Regions from separate parts of the Homo sapiens genome. Here region 2 is linked to region 1. Evidence: promoter capture Hi-C in 16 types of primary human blood cells and fetal thymus (Javierre and others, 2016). All regions are on one chromosome and are shown on one strand. Each heading gives the region's core, a stretch centred on a gene start or on the middle of the fragment in contact. The rest is flanking DNA. Distances are from core to core; before and after follow the strand shown. Region 1 holds the start of R3HCC1L (R3H domain and coiled-coil containing 1 like). Region 2 holds the start of ARHGAP19 (Rho GTPase activating protein 19).

Region 1 (2,922 bases), core at 347-2,846:
TTCAAGTATTCTTCAATCAATAAATTCAGAATAAACACAGACTAAAAATACCTAACTACACTTTCTTACCCCTTTAAAAATTAATCGCAGAGGTCGGGCACAGTGGGCACAGTGTCAAACGCCTGTAATACCAACACTTTGGGAGGTCGAGGCGGGAGGATCATTTGAGCCCAGGAGTTAGACCAATCTGGGCGACATAGTGAAATCCTGATTCTACCCAAAAAAAAAAAAAAAACTGATTGCAGAATTAGCATTCTCTGTAAGGGGAAAAATAAGACAATAAGCAACTTGCTTAGTCTCAAAGCTTAATGTCAAAAAAAATTAAACAGATGGGATATTTGGCTATTTATATTCTGAATTTCAACTGTGACACAAGACACAAGACCTGCTGGGGACAGGTATTAGTTGTAGTACAACCATATCTGAGGAACGTTTACTGCTTTATGCTTGTACCTGTGTGATACTGAAGGAAGGTTATAACAGCAAGAGATAGTTGTGTGTGCTGAGGAAGAAGAGTCTAAATTCTGGTGGGCCTTAAAATCCAGATGAAGTTTTAAATTGACTCCACAGGTGGTAACGCCCTAAGGTCACCTCTTCACTAGGAACCTGGCATAAAAACATCTGTATGGTTCAGATTCGTTTCCAAAGACACTTTCCCCCTATTTATTAACTAATTTGATCTTCGTATAGACATGAACCTGGTTTTAAAACTCAACTGACCTAGACTGGAGACTGGGGGATGGCAAGGTTATACCCGAAACATACTTTAGAGTTCAAAGCTTTCGCAGGAATATCACTTCTGCTGAAGCCCACAACCCTGGAAGGCCGCAGGGCAAAGAACATTAACCCCACTTTTCAGACAACGAAACCGAGGCTGCGCTAAACAGACTACTGTACAAAAGATCACAGGTCCAGCCAAGTGGCGGACTGAGACTTCCCCCAGGATATCAGACTCCAAATCCTGTGCTCCTTCCCGTACACAACTGAGAGGGGGCTGCACTCACAAACTTTAAAGATCGGACTTGGGGTTTTTCGCAGGCCTGCCAAGAAAAAGCAGGAAGTACATGCTCCTTTATAGATTGCTCACTCCCAGCCCGTAGCCCGGGGCTCCCGGGCAGCGGAGGAGGCTCAAAGGCGAGGCTCGAAGCGAAGCCCGGAAACCGCCGGCAGCCCTGGGGGCCCACGGCCCCGCAGCCCCGAGGGGGTAACCAGGGACCCCGCTCAATACCTGTTGAAACCCAGAAAAAGCACGTCCTTTCCGCCAGGATCATTTGGGGCGAGCGCCCAAAGCGAGCACGAGCCCCAGTGAGTGCAAAAGAGCCCCGGGAGGGTCCCTCTCAACCGCGGGCCCGCAGGGGTCAGAAGGCGGGAGCTTCCCAGTAACCTCCGCCCCAGGCAGGGGGCGGCCCCTCGCGTCACATGAGGAAAAAAAATACCAGCAACAAACGACGGAATGGAAGTCTTGTCCCGGGCTGTGAAGGGAGAAGTGGGGATTAAAAATCCTAGCTTGAGGTACAGAGGGAGGGGATACGGGGCTGGTTGTTACCGGCGCGCTGTTGCTCTCCGCTTCCGCCGTCTCCGCGAAGCTCTATCTCTTCCGCTCGCGCCGCTGGGGCGCGCGTCAGGCCTCGGCTCCGCCCCCAACGCCGTGGGGCCTTCTGGGGGTTGTAGTTTCCGCGAGGCCCGGCCGCGCCCACTGAGTTCAGGTCACGTAGGGGAGAAGCTGGCAAAATGGCGAGTGCCGGAGAGCATTTCTGCTCCTGTCCCTTCAACCCTTCCTCATTCCTCTCGGCTATATACGTGCGCAAATCTCCTTACATTCCACTCAATTATACCATCTCACTTCCTCCGTTCACAGCCAAGTTTTTTGAAAAAGATAATCTACACTGTCTCTACTTGCTCATCTGTGTTCACTCCTCATCGCAGCTTCCGCCCCCATGGAAAATGCCTTGTTGTCATAAGTGTCCTTGTTGCCAAACTCATTGGAGGTATTTCCGGACTCATCTAACTCAAGCTTTAGTCATTTGACGCTATTGGGCATTATCACTTATTTTCTATGACACTATCCAGGTTTTCCTTCTCTGAATTCATTCTACTTTGTTTCCTCTAACTTACCTCTAAAATATTGGTGTTTTCCAGAGTTCTTAAAATTGGGGTGGGAGAGGGGACACTCCAGTCCCTTCTCACCTGAGCTCATTGTTTGTATTCCCAACTTCCTAGACAAGACCTCTCCTCATCCATGCCCACAGGCATCTCCAGTGTCCTTGAAAAGTGAACTACTGGGGCCAGGAACAGTGGCTCATGCCTGTAATCCCAGCACTTTGGGAGGCCAAGGCAGGTGGATCACCTGCGGTCAGGAGTTCGAGACCAGCCTGACCAACATGGTGAAACCCTGTCTCTACTAAAAGTACAGAAATTAGCTGTGCGTGGTGGTGGGCACCTGTAATCCCAGCTACCCAGGAGGCCGAGGCAGGAGAATTGCTTGAAGGAGAATCGCTTGAACCCGGGAGGCGGAGGTTGCAGTAAGCCAAAATTGCACCACTGCACTCCAGCCTGGGCAACACAGGGAGACTCCGTCCCCCAAAAAAAGAAAAGTAAACTACTACCCCTCCTCCCTACTCATTAATATTCACTCTTTAACCTGATTCCTCCTTTCTCACTTCCTCTTCCTCCAATATTCAAATGGTCACCAAATCTTGGAGATTCTATTGTAGCAGGACGAGCCGCAGACAAAACCTCTCAGACACCAAGTTGTAGAACGAAGGGCTTTATTCAGCTGGGAGCATCGGCAAGCTACTGTCCTAAAATCCAAGCTCCCCGAGTGCACAATTTCTGTCCCTTTTAAGGGCTCACCACACTAAAGATTTCACATGAAAGGGTCGTGATTGATTGAGCAATCTGGGGTGTATGTGACAGGGGCTT
Region 2 (2,800 bases), core at 109-2,608, 840 kb after region 1:
CAGAAAGTGAAGCATGTGCAGTACAGTTTAGTAAAAAGGAGGCAGAGTGCAGGGAGAGCCCCAGGTGGCAGGATATCAGAAGGATCAATACAGAAATTCCCGAGAAAAGTCCAGCATAGGAAAACAATATGGAAAAACAAAAAACAACAATGCTCAAAATTTACAATGTTCTCACATATGTTGCCTCAGTTAATCCCTAGGAGAAGTGTGTGCCGCAGGGAGGACAAGGATAATTATGGTTATTCCTACCATTGAGGATTAAAGTTTAGTTTGGGACAAAGTCATGCAGCTTTTGGTTCCATGGTTCATATCACAAGGCAAACTCTGTGGGTTCTCTGGGAAGTTGGAAGGGAGTGAATGTATTGAAGCAGAAATGACCGACTCCAGCCTGGCCAACAGGGTGAAACCCCATCTCTACAAAAAGTACAAAAATTTGCCCTGTGTGTTGGTATGCTGCAATATTGTACTGTGCTCCAGCATGGGAGACAGAGGGAGACCTTATCTCAAAAAAAAAAAAAAAAGAAAGAAATAAAGGAAGAAAGAAATGACCTATGGCTAGGGCTATGCTGAGTATCTGAAGAAAGAAGGCTTTGAACTATACGTTTAAAAGCAAGTACTTCTAGGTTGCCACTCCCTGCCTGCACTTGAGGGATTTATCTCTGGGTCAAGACAGAGAACGAGTCTTGCATTAAATTACATTAAATTAAATGAATTAATTTATGGCTGGGTGCAGTGCCTCATGCCTGTAATCCCAGCACTTTGGGAGGCTGACATAGGAGGATTGCTTGAGCTCAGGGGTTCGAGACCAGCCTGGGCAACATGGTGAAACCCTGTCTCAACAGAAAAAAAAAATTAAAAAAATTGTAAAAAAAAATTATTTATTTTCAACTTTTATTTTAAATTTAGGGGGTACATGAGTTGGTTTGTTATCTGGGTATATTGTGTGATGCTGAGATATAGGGTACGGAGTCTTGCATTTTAGAAAGTGATGAGTCACTTTCAAAGTTGACAGTTCTATAATTCCCTGATTTACATATCAGGACAAAATTTGAGCATAGGCTGGTGATTTCTGACTTGAACCTAAAGGTCTGTGGAATCGGAAGGGTTCATCAAAATGAGAAACTACAACTCCCGGCAGGCCTCGGGGCTGGGTCTTCTTCCCCGCCCCTCCCTCTTTTTCCGCCAGGGCTGGGAACGACCAATGACGGTTAGTCATTTGAATAGACCAATAATATATTAAACGGTTCAGGTTGAGGAGGGGCGGTCGAGTCATCCAATCGCACGGAAGAGGTGAAAACATATTAGCCAATCCAAATATGTGGGGGCGGGACGTAAGGTGGGGCGGTGAAAGAAGTTTGCTGACGAAGATGGCGACTGAGGCACAGAGTGAAGGGGAGGTGCCAGCCCGCGAATCCGGCCGGAGGTGAGCTGAGTTTGGTCCAGTTTCCTGGGAAACGCGGCCTTGGGCTGGTAGTCCTGCCGCCTTTGCCTTGGGTCACGGAGGCGCACGGTTCGGGCTTTGTTTCTTTCTCCCACGGCGTTTCTCATCGTCGCGCCTGCGGGGGCTGAGGCGCGGGGGTCGGGCCTGGGCGCTGGACTCCAGCCAAACCCCCCGCTCGGTCCTGCCGGTGCCCGAGGGGGCTCCTCCCGCTGCGCTGGCTGCAGACGTCCAGCTGGGGGTGGCAGCGCTGATCGCTTTGGCGCCGAGACACCTCTTGATGGCGAGGAAACGGAAGTCCAGGGCTGGTTAGCGAATTCCTCACTGTTGCACACAGCGCTTCACATCTTCTCCGAGGCACTTTGTGCGTTCAGGTCCGAGCAAGGATTTGAGTGTCAATTAGAAACAGTGTTGAGTCCTTGGGCCAGTTTTTAAACCTCTCTCGACTTCAGTTTCTTCATCTGCAAAGGGACGTGAGGATGCCTATTTCCAAGTGTCAAGATTGAATAAGACAATCCATTTAAAGCTAGCACTGAGTTTAGCCGATAATGACAACTCTACGCAATAGATTTTCTTCTTCCTAGTAGAACAGCTAAGGAGCAGATGGGAGAGGGATCTGTAGTCCAGGACATCATGACTTTATTTCCACAGGATGTTCTTTCCTAAACAGCCACACCGAGATTTAGCGTTTTCAGGAGAGAATTTCGAGGTGGTGTTGCCTTAGCCTTGAGACCTAAGTTGTCTTAATTGATTACAATTTTGTTTTTGGTGTAATTCAATAGATTGAGTTTATTTACGTTGCCTCAGTGTAACTCAGTAAAATACTTCGGTTTGGCGTCTTTTGGTTCCATTTGTACCGAATAAGAGATTCCAAGAATCTTGGGAAACTAATAACTTTGTGACTCGGCTTCTTCCTGAGCCCAGATGAGCGTGGTTGAGTGTGTTATTTAAAATATCATACGGGGCCGGGCATGGTGGCTTACGCCTGTAATCCCAGCACTTTGGGAAGCCGAGGGGAGCGGATCACCTGAGATCAGGAGTTCGAGACCAGCCTGGCGAACATGATGAAAGCCCGTCTCTACTAAAAATACAATAATTAGCCGGGTGTGGTGGCGGGCGCCTGTAGTCCCAGCTACTCAGGAGGTTGAGGCGGAGGTTGCAGTGAGCCCAGATGCGCCATTGCATTCCACCCTGGGTGACAGAGCAAGACTATGTCTCAAATAAATAAATAAAATAAAATATGATATGGAAGAGTTTTCCACTCTTTTTTGTTTTGTTTTGTTTTTGTTTTGCAGTTGCAAGATTTCATAGAGTGAAATAGAGTGAAAACACAGCTCCCACACAAAGGGAGGGGACCCAAAG

Evidence for each region. Contacts are between HindIII fragments. The CHiCAGO score rates a contact against its expected background, and 5 or more counts as called.
Region 2: a contact is called between the fragment with the promoter of ARHGAP19 here and the fragment with the promoter of R3HCC1L in region 1, in 2 of 17 cell types (fetal thymus and activated CD4 T cells). The highest score is 7.1, in fetal thymus.

What each region holds. Positions count from the first base shown.
Region 1 is chr10:98,133,331-98,136,252 of GRCh38, reverse strand. It overlaps R3HCC1L (R3H domain and coiled-coil containing 1 like), which reads right to left and starts at 1,596. Exons shown (of 10, transcript NM_001351015.2): 1 at 1,547-1,596. RefSeq lists enhancers at 898-1,037, 380-1,169. The HindIII fragment of the contact is 1,235 bases long and covers 782-2,016 here.
Region 2 is chr10:97,291,195-97,293,994 of GRCh38, reverse strand. It overlaps ARHGAP19 (Rho GTPase activating protein 19), which reads left to right and starts at 1,358. Exons shown (of 12, transcript NM_032900.6): 1 at 1,358-1,423. The coding sequence starts at 1,368. ARHGAP19-SLIT1 (ARHGAP19-SLIT1 readthrough (NMD candidate)) reads left to right here and starts at 1,322. Exons shown (of 15, transcript NR_037909.1): 1 at 1,322-1,423. RefSeq lists a silencer at 1,637-1,686 and enhancers at 1,031-1,787, 1,788-2,546. The HindIII fragment of the contact is 8,887 bases long and covers 1-2,800 here.